Regions from separate parts of the Homo sapiens genome. Here region 2 is linked to region 1. Evidence: promoter capture Hi-C in human tissues and cell types (Jung and others, 2019). All regions are on one chromosome and are shown on one strand. The core of a region is centred on a gene start or on the middle of the fragment in contact, and the rest is flanking DNA. Distances in the headings are between cores, read along the strand shown. Region 1 holds the start of CLSPN (claspin). Region 2 overlaps KIAA0319L (KIAA0319 like).

Region 1 (6,306 bases), core at 2,163-4,662:
TCCCGAGTAGCTGGGATTACAGGCATGTGTCACCACGTCTGGCTAATTTTGTATTTTTAGTAGAGATGGGGTTTCTCCATGTTAGTCAGGCTGGTCTCCAACTCCTGACCTCAGGTGATCCGCCCGCCTCAGCCTCCCAAAGTGGTGGGATTACAGACGTGAGCCACCACGCCCGGCTATATGTATATTTCCTTTTTTCTTTTTTTGAGACGGAGTTTCGCTCTTATTGCCCAAGCTGGAGTGCAATGGCACGATCTTGGCTCCCTACAACCTCCGCCTCCTGGGTTCAAGCGATTCTCCAGCCTCAGCCTCCCGAGTAGCTGGGATTACAGGTGCGTGCCACCATGCCCGGCTAATTTTTTGTAGAAACGGGGTTTCACAATGTTAGCCAGGCTGGTCTCGAACTTTTGACCTCAGGTGATCCGCCTGCCTCAGCCTCCCAAAATGCTGGAATTACAAGCGTAAGCCACCACAACCGGCCCTGTATATTTCTATATACATAAATGTATGCTTTATATATGTATGTATATCTTAAAATACATACATATATGCATATATACACATATATAATATAAACAATTACAAAATGCCAACTTCGGATGATGATTCAAAAAACTAAAAATGTAAATAATTATGCTAAAGTGGCATATAAAAATAAATGAAATATCTCTGAGTCAAAGAAATCTGAACACTGACTAGATACTTCTTAGGTGTGGTAATAATATCGTAGTATCTATTTTTGGAAAGCTCTTGTTTGTTAGATATGCACACTAAAATCTTTGTGGTTCAAATAATATGATATCTTGGATTTTCTTCCAAATAATCCTGTGAGAGGAAAAATGGGTAGCTGTATGAATAAAACAAGATTGGCCATGACTTGAAAATACAGGTTGAACATCTCTAACCTGAAAATCTGAAATGCTCCCAATTCCAAAATATTTGAGCACTGACATGATGCCACTAGATGAAAATTCCACACCTGACCTCATATGATGAGCTGCAGTAAAACCTTTGCTTCATGCACGAAATTATTTTAAAATGCTGTATAAAATTACCTTCAGACTATGTGTGTAAGGTATATATGAAATATAACTGAATTTCATGTTTAGACTTGGGTCCCTCCCCCAAGATATCTCATTATGTGTATGCGAATATTCCAAAATCCAAAATGAATCTGAAATTCAAAACGCTTCTGGTCCCAAGCATTTCAGACGAGAGATATTCAAACTGTAGTTGAAGTAAGGTGATGGGTTCATTATACCATCCTTTCTACGGTTGTATAGGTTTGAAAATTTCTAAATAAGACAGTTTAAAAAGTCGCAAATAAAAACCTAAGGAGGAGGGGTGTGTTAGGTGACTTGATCAGTTAGTGACCTTAAAGCTAACCCTAGATGCCAAGTCTACCTCCTTAGTGTTCTCAGGGCTCTGAATCAACTTATTAATAAAGGGAGAAATATGAACATCAGTAATGTAACAGGGCACAAGGCCTCAGCTGAGTGGTTTCTCAAAAAATTATTAAATTGGTCAGGCATGGTGGCTCACGCCTGTAATCCCAGCACTTTGGGAGGCCGAGGTGGGTGGATCACAAGGTCAGGAGTTCGAGACTAGCCTGGCCAATACAGTAAAACCCCGTATCTACTAAAAATACAAAAATTAGCTGGGCGTGGTGGTGTGTGCCTGTAGTCCCAGCTGCTCAGGAGGCTGGGGCAGGAGAATCGCTTGAATCCAGGAGACAGAAGTTGCAGTGAGCCGAGATTGTGCCACTGCACTCCAGTCTGGGCAACAGAGCGAGACTCCGTCTCAAAAAAAAAAAAATTATTAAATTGATTTGAATGCAAGGTACAAATTTTTTTTTTTTTTGATACAGTGTCTCACTCTGTCACCTAGGCTGGAGTGCAGTGGCAGGATCATGGCTCACTGCAGCCTTGACCTCCCAGGCCCAAAGGATTCTCTCACCTCAGCCACCCGAGTAGCTGGGACCGAGTAGCTGGGACCACAGGCGACGCCCGGCTAATTTTTTTTTTTTTGTAGAGGCGGGGTTTTGCCATGTTTTCTATGCAGGCTGGTTTCGAACTCTTGAGCTCAAGCAATCTGCCGGCCTTAGCCTCCCGAAGTGCTGGGATTGCTGAGAATTAATATGTATGCACTGATGATCCTCTCAACAATCCAAAGCAGTAAAACTATTACTTCTGTTTGTGAGTGTGGAAACCGAATTTAGGTAACCAGACAGCTCAAGGAATAGGGCTGCTTTGAATGACGATTATCTTCTAGGCAATTTGCAGCAACGTCAAAGGGCAGGGCCAGTAACAGGGTGGGGTGAGGTCTCAAAAAATTCAGTAATCAAAATGAATAACATTAATGCAATATTTTTTAAAAAATTAAATCAATAATCTACAGCTCATGAGGTAAATAATATGCCCGCTTTTGTAAATAAAGTTTATTGGAAACAGGGATGGAATTAGGGTGAGGTGATTGAGGCAAGGTCGTGCAAATGACTGGTCGGATCTCGTCTTTGTTTAAACGTCTGATATTTTGTTCAATATCAAATCATAAAAAGTTTTTGCATTAATTTTGGTTTTTTAAAAATATTGCATTAAAATATGAGTTTGATTGAGGGTTTTGGCGCCCCTTTAAATTTTGCTCCTAAGGCGGGAGTGCCTTGCCCGAATCCGGCCCAGAAAGGACACAGCTCTGGAAACATCTGTTTTCTATGCCCAATTTCGCCAGGGAGCTGCCAGCCACCAGCCAGGAGCCCCAGCGGTGACTTCCCCACTCGGGGCCCGGTCGGAAAACGCAAAGGGCCTGCGCGCGATGACCTCCAGGGCCCCTCCCAGGCCCAGTGTGGAACTCCCTAACACCCTCGCTCGCCCTCTCTCTGCGGAGAATCCCCCCGCACCGCTGCGGCCGGGTTCGGCTAGAGCCTCCCGGCTTTCAGAGCACCCTGAGGGGAGGAGCTTCCGCGACAGGAAACGCGCCAAAGGGGAGGGCTGGCGGCAGGAACCGGCTGAAGAGGGGCTGGGCTGCCGGCAGTGCGCGCCGCAGAGACCTGGAGCTCTCCGGCCACGGAGCCCGAAGCGCGGGAAGCCCGGCGGCGGGACGGGATGCCCGGTCGGAACCCATCCCGGCCGAGTCTCGAGGCCGCGGGAGCCGGCGCGGCGAACGCCGGGAGCCGCAGTCCTCCCGCCCGGGCGCCTCGGGTCAGCGGGGTCTACCCCGGCCCCACCTAACCTCTCGGTGCCCGGCCTTCTAAGCCCCCGTGGGGGGCGTGTGCATAAACTCACCTCAGAACCCACCTCGCCTGTCATGACTTCTGCCTCCCCTGCGCTCCACTAGGGACGGAGCTGTCTCTGATTCCCTCAGCCGGAGAGCAGCGGCTCCCGCCGTCTCCAGCCCAGCAGTGCTGTTCTTGCTTTCCCGCCCAGCCAGAGTGGAGGTCCCACCCAGATGGTTTGCACCAATCCAGAGGGGGCTTTCCAGCGAGTCCCCGCCCCCTTCCGACCCACCAATCACGCAGCGCCTCTGGCCGCCCAATCTCCTATTACCCAGGCTGAGTTGGCGGGTCGCAGCTGCTGGTAGCGGAGCCTGGGGGAGCTGGAGGTGCACGGGGGCGGGGCAGTCGGTACCAGGCGAGCCGTGGTCTTTGACCTTTGACACTTGCCAAAGCATCGAGTGCGATTGGAGGGGTGAGTCTTTCGGGGGGAAGTGAGCTGGGAAACGGTTCCTGGGCACCTGGGAGTGTCCTGTACCTGAACTTTTTAGAGGAATTCCAAGGTTCCCGTGGGGATTTTCTCCACTGACTTCATTTCTGGAGCAGCTAGATCCTGTGTGCCTCTTGTACATGACACTTACCACTGAATATATATATATATATATATATATATATATATATATATATATACACACACACACACATATGTACACACATATATACATACACATATATACACATACACATGTATGTGTATACACACACACTTTTTTTTTTTTTGAGATGGAGTCTCCCTCTGTTAGCCAGGATGAAATGCAGTGGCGCGATCTCGGCTCACTGCAACCTCCGCCTCCCGGGTTCAAGCGATTCTCGTGCCTCAGCCTCCTGAGTAGCTAGGATTACAGGCACCCGCCACCAACCCCTGGCTAATTTTTGTATTTTTAGTAGAGACGGGGTTTCACCATGTTGGCCAGGCTGGTCTCGAACTCCTGATCTCAAATGATCCTCGCCTCGGCCTCCCAAAGTGCTGGGAGGCCTCATACCCCTCACAGGCGTGAGCCACTGTGCCCGGCCCACTTTTATTTTTTAAAGAGGGCCGGGCTCCATGGCTCACGCTTGTAATCTCAACGCTTTGGGAGGCCGAGGTGGGAGGATGGCTTGAGTCCAGGAGTTTGAGGTTAGAGTGAGTTATGATCGCACCACTGCACTTCAGCGTAGGCGATAGAGGGAGACCTTGTCTCTAAAGAAAAAAGTTTTGTGGGCTGCTCAGATACCAAAGAATATGGTTGGATAATCTTTATAATTCTCTGTAGAGTTAATTTGAGGATGTAGAAAGCACTCATCACTCCTAGAGGGCATTCTACCTTTAAACAAGGCTGGAAAAAGAATTGAAGCTCTGAAATCAGGTTTATCCCAGACACAGTTCTTTTTTTTTTTTTTTTTTTTTTGTTGAGACAGAGTCTCTCCCTGTCACCATGGCTGGGTGCAATGGCGTGATCTCGGCTCACTGCAACCTCCGCCTCCCGGGTTCAAGCGATTCTCCTGCCTCAGCCTCCTGAGTAGCTAGGATTATAGGCATGTGCCACCACGCTCAGATAATTTTTTGTAACTTTAGTAGAGACAAGATTTCACCATTTTGGCCAGGCTGATCTTGAACTCCTGACCTCGTGATCCGCCCGTCTCAGCCTCCCAAAGTGCTGGGATTACAGGTGTGAGTCACCGCACCTGGCCTATCCCAGACAATTCTAATCCCAGTTTTGCCACTGTGCTGGCCATTATTTTTTGCCTCTCCAGGTCAATTCTCTGTCCTTCCTTTACCCTGGTGTGTGTCAAGGCAAGGCTGACCTCTCTAGACTGTATTATCCCAGCTCCCTTGCCCTTCTGGTTGGGTCAGGCCCCTGTAAAGACACCTTATAAGGTTACTGTAAGGAGATGAGAGGCCACCAGGAAAGAAAGGTCAGAGTATTTATTGCTCACTTCACCCTCCATGGTCATATCCACTGCCAGTGTGGCCAGCTTGGCCCAGCTTGCCCAGGACTTTCCTAGTTTTAGCACTAAAAGTCCTGCATCCTGAGAACCTCCTCAGTCACAGGTATACCAAATGGTTGGTTCTTCACCCAATCCACTGGCCTCCTCTTCCAAGTTTCCACCTTTAGCTGGGTTCAGAAAAAAGCTCCCTCTCCACATCTTCATTTCTTTACTTCCCCACCATCTCTCAATCCACTTCTGTCCCCACCAACAAGAGCCCATCATCCATCCTCTTCTCTTTTTGTGTCTTGGTTTATCCACCTTTTCATCCATTTACTATTAATTTCTACATCAACGATTCCCAGGTATACATCTATGGCACTCCCCATCATATATGGAGGGCTAACGTTTATTGAAGCCTTACTCAGTGGCAGAAACAGTTGCAAGGATTTTATAAGTGTTATCTTATTTAATCTTCAGAGTAAACTTGTAATATTATTATCTCTTTCTTAGAAGATGAGGAAACCAGACTTTTAAAAGGCTAGAAACTGGTGGAGCCAATTTTCAGACTCTATGTGACTTCAGAGCTCATACCCCTCAGAAAGACCCTGCCTGAGCATCCTCTGTGTTCTGCCTCCTTATCCTATGCTGGTTTCCCTGATAACACTTTCCTTTGCCTGAAATTTTATTTATATCTATTTGTCTGTTGTTGCTCCAAGAGAACAGGCGTTTTGTTTTCTTGGCCTCTGTATCATTGCAACCTAGAATTGTCTTTCTTAAACTTGAGCATGCATCAGAATAATCTGAAAGGCTGGTAAAAACAGCTATTGTTGGGTCCTAGTGCCAAAGTTTCTGATTCAGTATGTCTGAAGTGGGGTCCAGAGATGTATACTTCTTTCTTTCCTTTTTTTCTTTTTCTCCCTGAGTGCAGTGGCATGATCACAGCTCACTGCAGCCTCAACCTCCCAGGCTCAAGCAACCCTTCCACCTCAGCCTCCCAAGTGGCTGGGACTACAGGTGTGCACCACCATGCCCAGCTAATTTTTTATTTTGTAGAGACGGGGTGTCACCATGTTGCCCAAGCTGGTCTCAAACTCCTGGACTCAAGCAACCTGCACATCTCGGCCTCG
Region 2 (6,346 bases), core at 1,290-3,789, 320 kb before region 1:
TAAAAAGATGTTCATGTTCCACAAGGACCACAATGAAAAAAAATTTTTAAAGATATTCTTTCAATCCTACCTCCCATATTATTTTCAGCACCAACTTCCTCAAAAAGGTGTTATACTGACCATCTCTGTATCCTCAAACCATGAAATCTGTCCTCTGCCTCCAACATCTAAGTAAAATGCTCTCACTATAGTTGCACTGATCTACTAATCACAAACCCATAGGCCTACTTTGTGTTCTCACCACACCTCCATCCCTGTAGCATCTGAATCCTTTGGAAGCACCCCTTTTGCCAGATCACCCCTTAACTTCCAGCAGACTACTCTCATTTGGTTTTCCTCCCACCTGATTGCTGTTTCTTAGTTTCTTTTGCTACCTCTTCTTTCTCTGCCTCCTCCTTAAATAATGATGCCCTTCAGAGTTGTGTCCTTATCCATCTTAGCTCTCTCCTAGTGAGACTCACCCGTTCTCATGGCTTTGGCTCCTGCCTGTATGCAGTAACTCCTATCTCGGGCTCTTCCTTCCACAAGTTCCAGCCTTTACTTGTGGCTATCTGACGGAACATCTCCTGACGCAGCCAGTAAGACACCCCAAATTCAATCATCCATACTGGTTTCGCCTGCCTTCCCAATCTCAGTTAATGACCTGAACCATCTATCCAGACATCCAAACCAAAAGCCTCACATTTGCTATCTCACTCACCTTCATTCGTAAAGGGCCAGGTACTACTGAATTACCACTGAATTTCTTTTAATTTCTTCTCCTCTTCTTCCACTATCTTAATTCAGGTTTTATTACCTTTTCACTGGACTAGTCCAGAAGCTTCCTGAATGGTCTCCCAGCCTTTGGTCTCTCCCTATTTTAGACTAGCTTCCACACTACTGATCTTTCTTTAAAAAAAAAAAAAAAAAAATCAAATTATGGAAATTCCTTGCTTTTAAAAACAAAACAAAAACTTCACACACATAAAACAAACCAACTTGGATCTGCCTACCCAAACTATTAAAACTAAGATCCTCAGCTTGCATATAACTGTTCTCAATCTCCACTGCCAGTCTTGTCTTCTACCACATCCTGGGGCCACTAAGCTTGAACCAAGTGACTTCTTCTGGAAGAAACTGTGTACTTTCATACCACAGGGCCATTGCTCAATGCTGTTGCCCTGTTCTGAATTTCCTCCCCATCCTCCCATGCCTGGTCAATATAAGTTTCCTTTTCCCCTTTTTTTTTCTTTTTTTTTTTTTTCTTGAGACAGTCTCACTCTGTCTTCCAGGCTGGAGTGCAGTGGTGTGATCAGAGCTCACTGCAGCCTCAAACCCCTGGGCTCAAGTAATTCTCCTGCCTCAGCTTCCCAAATAGCTTGGACTACAGGCGAACCACACTGCACCTGGCTAATTTTTAAATCTTCTGTAGAGGTGGGGTCTTGTTATGTTGCCCAGGTTGAAGTTTTCTTTATTCTAGAAAAATCTTTGGATTACTCCTACCCCAACTCTCCTAGAAGAATTCATTGTCCTTGCCACAGTGTTCCACAATGCCGCTTGTTGTACCAAACCCACACCGTACTAATGTTCCATATTTACTTATCTCCTCTACTAGACTGTGGTTGTCAAAATAGTTGACCTCCTACACCCTGGAGCCCTGCTGAAGTGTCTAGTACAGCGCATGTCACCTGCACTAGAAGACAGAAGTCTATTGAAGAAAAGGCAACATGAGTGTTTCTGGTCAGAAAGCCCACCTTTCTCTATCTAACCACACTATTTCTCAGCTCATTCAAGAAGCCCGGGGGCCCCTGGTCTTTCCTTTGCTCCCCCCATTCATTGCCCAGCTACCTCTGCTCCGTGTACGGCTGAATCTTTTGCACAATGATGTCGGAATCCAGCACCCCCAGGAGGACCCCAATCTGGCGGATGAACATCCCCTTCAGCCTCTCAGTTAGCTGACTGACGTTGATATCCAAGATGATCTCCACCAGGTTGTTTTTCCTGGGATCTGGAAAGCATGTGGATCAGTCATGGCTTTAGAAGTAGGAGAGTAAACACAGACCTGCCACTGTGCATTTGCTTTGGCACAGGAGAGAAAGGAGTGAGAACATTCAGATATCCTTCAAATGGAAAGGGACAATAGTGAATTCCTGATCGGGCAATCTGGGGCTGGCTTAGAAAGCTTCTAAAGCACTCCTGCTCTCTATACCAACCTGAGAATTCCCACACATGTGCTGGGGATAAGGCTGAAGCAGTGATGCAATGAGGGGTGGGGAGTAATGACGGGAGTGGGGAAGAGAGAAACACTTAAACATTTGTTTTAAAAGCCTCTGTGCAACTGGCAGTGCTGAGCAATCCAGGCCAAGTGGGGGTTATTAAGCAATCTCTCCTGACTCACATCTGATTTTCAGTGCCTCGCTGTATTTTGTGCACAACAATGGGAGGAAAAGTGTCCATCTCAACAACCTCCTCAATAATGGGAATGCATCCGTCCCTCCAGGTTTAAATACAGTTAACAAAAGAAAATCCAGTCAGCCAAGACACAAGGATTTCCTTAGAGCCACATCACAGCTGCACTATCTTTGTATAACTCTAAAACGGTGAGGCTATCATGTTTTACTTTTGAATATGTCCTAAAGATGTTCTACATTTGGAATTTCAAACTGATTGTTTGGAATGCCTTATTTACATACTTGAATGCACCACTTGCCTGTTCTGATGTATAATTTGCATAATTAGTAGACTATCTGTGATCTGACTTTAAACACCAAAGAGATTTTATAGTGTCTCAGCTACTGTCCTTCCTAGAGGCAGGACAAGGACTGGAAGACCTCCCAAGATCCCTTCCTGTCCAAAACATCCATATATGAGGTTGGCCTAGATAATAAAGAGTAGGTTTAAAGTTAATACCATTTCATCAGAAGCTCAGGAATTTATACAGCTCTATCCCACCTCCATACTCAGTGCCTCCCTATCACCATATTAATCTCAAAGCAAAATAAAAACATGGTTCTATTTAAGAAGAAAATTTTTATTTCTGCAAAGCTGAAAAATGTAAAGAGCACTATTACTTTACCTTCCCTGGATTATCAGACAAGGCCTGAGGCTCAACTTATAAAAATAAATTGTTTTCTGCATCTGGATGCTGATGAGACATCATGACTCAAGCTATTCCCATGCTCAGATTCCCAAGCACTCTGAGCCCTCTCTCATCAGTCACGAGGAGAGGAGAAAGTGCTGGACTACGAGCACAAAGGCCTGGCTCTGACACAACTGCTGTGTGACACTGAGCAAGTCCTGCCCTCTCTGAGTTTGTTTCTCCATCTGAGATGAATAGGGGGAGGTCTGTATTTCTGCATGGGTAGGAGGTATTATTGGAACAGACGGTCTCTATGGATTTTTCAGCTTGGGGTTTCTCGATTATTTTTAAAGCTGGACATGCCATCTGGCTCTGTCCATGCTCGGGGAAGGGGATCTCAGGATAGAGGCCTTGATTGGCTGATTCAGCAATTCTACTCAGCCTCATCACTAAATGAACTCACCAGGTTTCACCTCCACAGTGGTCCGGTCTGTGTCACTCTCACCCTTTGCATCGGTCACTTTCAGGTGAAAAGTGTAGGTTCCCTCAACCAGGTTTGAAAGAAAAAGGATAGGGTGATGGTCAGAGTGATTTAACACCTCCTGTAGGGTTGAACAACATGGCTATGTTACAGAACAAAATGCCATTCCTTTCCTGGAGTCAGTTGCTGCTTTCACCATAACTAGGCCCTTCAGGGCTGAACTGTTTCAACCTTGGGCAGTTCCTGATACGGAACAGCATTGCAGCCTACAACTGCTAGGATCAGGGAAGGGAAACCCATTCTGTGCTATACTAGCTTACAGAATGACCCTAAGCAAGTCACTTCACCTCCCTGGATTTCAGAGAACAATCTGGGTTTGATATAAGGGACCACTTGATTAAAGCATATACTGGAACGCGTGGCTCCTCCTCCTCCCCACTCCTGTGTAGCTCTCCAGCTCCTAGCACACTTACCCCTGCTGCTGGGCTCCCCTCATCTCGAGTCCAGAGGTAGCTGACTATTCCCTTGTCATCTGAGGACTTAGAGCCATCCAGCTCTGCTGTGCTCGTGGGTAGGGTAATCACCACATTCCCAGTTATCTTGGCTATAGGTGGTTTGTTTATTTCTAATCAAAAAGAAATCATTGACATAATGTGACATTCTGGAAAAGAAGAAATGTTTCTTCATGATGCTTATGGGGAAATTAAAACATCAAGAGTACCTTAACTGGAGAACCTTTTTAAGTGCCTGTCCCTGCCACCAACCAACAGTGTAGATGAAAGCTACCAGCGCTGCAGTCCTGAGGTTCCAGTCCTACCCAGAGAAATGTTCTCCTAACACTGTACAACAGAGGGGACGAGTGTGCTTTCCTCTCATATTCTCCCAGCAGCCTTCCCAAATGGAATCCATTTCTCTGCTTTGGAGGTATGTGATGATCAGAAATAACGGCCCAAACTGGCTTAAAACCTTGGAGTTTAGGTTTCACCTAGCTGATCTTGCAAATTCTCCTTCAAAATATCTTAAAATGTTATTCTCTGAATATCTTTTTGGACCCCTTCCTTGGAACTTCACAAGAGAAAACAAAGAGCTACCTCTCTTATTCGGAGCCCCACGTGAAGCTCTGTATATTCAGATGTCTGTGCAGTATTTACTCAGCTTGGTATCTTATGTCTGGAGGTCTGCATATCTGATGGTTTTTCCTGCTATCAACTTAAGGCCCTCAACTTAAGGCCCTCTCCCACAGCTCTCACTGGTCACTGTGCCTGTAAACTAGAGCAAGGCCTCTGGCTGGCCTCAGCTCAAAGGCTCAGGGCAAGCATAGTCAGCTGTAGTGCGGCCGTCATTCTCAAGCCTGACAGCAGGTGTCACTGTAGCTAACAGGAGTCACGGCCCAGGTCTCAGCAATGCAGAGGGGCAAAATAAAAATGCAAAGAATAGAACCCTTAATTCTTTCCCTATTCAACTGAGAAATAAAGTAAGGAGGGAAGGAGGGAGGACTGAAAAGAAAGTAAGGGGATGAGAGGGAAGGGAAGATGTAAGCAGGAGGAGGGAGGGAAGTTAAAATTCACCTTACAGTCCAATTAAAGGCTGTTTTAGAAAAGAAAATAACAATTGCCCTCACCCCAACCCTCTTACCCACCTCTTGCTATCTCTAATCAATTTCTGCAGGCAAACATGACAGGATAAATTCTTCAGCTATCTGACCCTAAGAGGCTGCTACACAAACTGGAGGCAGAGAGGTACCTTCTTTGACAATGACATTCACAGAGCTCTGGCTTTGCAGGTTCCTCTCATCTTTGACAGTCAAGGTGAACACATAGGTCCCCACTTGCAGCCCAGTCACAGTAGCAACACTGCTGTTAGCATTCTCGAGCTGCACCCCATCAGGTCCCCTGCAAAAAAAGAAACTAGAGGGTAGAGTTGTACCTGTCTGCTGCTGTCCTGTCCCTAACTTAGCAGGAGGAGACAATGACTCCCTCAGCAAAGACACGAACTACTGTTACCCAGACCTTGACAAGACATGTTTAAAAATATTTCAATTGGACAAAGTGTCATTTGGCCTCAAAATACAGGCTGCCTGCTGGTCAGAAAATTCAAATAGCTTTCAAACACCTCTAGCCTTATCCTTTATATGAGCTTCTAGAACACTTGAACGCTTTACCATTCTAGTTTGTAAAAGGAAGAAAGTTCTCTGAGCAAGTCTCTGATCAAAAGAATGATTTAAGAGTGATGTTTCTAAAAAGCATTTCTGGCCCAGTAGTTGGTTTGGCTCTTGCCAGCAAGGAAGCAAAATGCATTTCTTAATCACGTGCCCAAATCCTTCCTGATGAAAGAAAAGGAAATGGGGCAAGACTGCAGAGGAACTCTCAGGACAAAATCATCTTGTTTGTAGCAACTCTATAAGCAAAGTTCCCTCCAGCTCCTGGACAGGGGCCATCAAGCACCTAGGACACCCTACAACCCTTCTTCCCCCTTGTGGCCTCAGAGACTTGCCTGCAGCAGCCAAGGGAGCTCTGTGCCAACATTCAGGCTGCACACAGCCAGAGAGCCCTCTGCTCAAGGATCAAAATGCCCCAGAGCTTTTAACTACAGGAAAGCCAGAGAAATCTGCAGACATCCAGGATTTACTTTGTTTTGCCTTTTAAAGTTACAGCCTCTGATCCTGGTAGCTCCTCCTGAAGCACAGTCTCCTTCAAGAAGCTATGCTAAGCATTATCTCTGCTGTAAACACTAATAAAACTCAGCTAAAAGGTCTATCAGCCATATCTTCAATAAACAATTATAATTAAAAACACCCTGGGCTGGGT

The links. Contacts are between HindIII fragments. The study calls those that stand out against the background at their distance.
Region 2: a fragment that was not itself captured here is called in contact with the fragment with the promoter of CLSPN in region 1 in 2 of the 25 tissues and cell types used here (bladder and mesenchymal stem cells).

What each region holds. Positions count from the first base shown.
Region 1 is chr1:35,766,566-35,772,871 of GRCh38, forward strand. CLSPN (claspin) reads right to left here and starts at 3,413. Exons shown (of 25, transcript NM_022111.4): 1 at 3,282-3,413. The coding sequence starts at 3,305. CLSPN-DT (CLSPN divergent transcript) reads left to right here and starts at 3,530. Exons shown (of 3, transcript NR_199050.1): 1 at 3,530-3,683; 2 at 6,233-6,306. RefSeq lists a silencer at 3,026-3,255. The HindIII fragment of the contact is 25,943 bases long and covers 1-6,306 here.
Region 2 is chr1:35,446,346-35,452,691 of GRCh38, forward strand. KIAA0319L (KIAA0319 like) reads right to left here. Exons shown (of 21, transcript NM_024874.5): 13 at 5,283-5,431; 14 at 4,013-4,164; 15 at 3,522-3,660; 16 at 1,828-1,987. Among named protein-coding and RNA genes, the nearest start is that of ZMYM4-AS1, 83 kb to the left of the region's middle. RefSeq lists a silencer at 4,755-4,934. The HindIII fragment of the contact is 6,659 bases long and covers 1-5,869 here.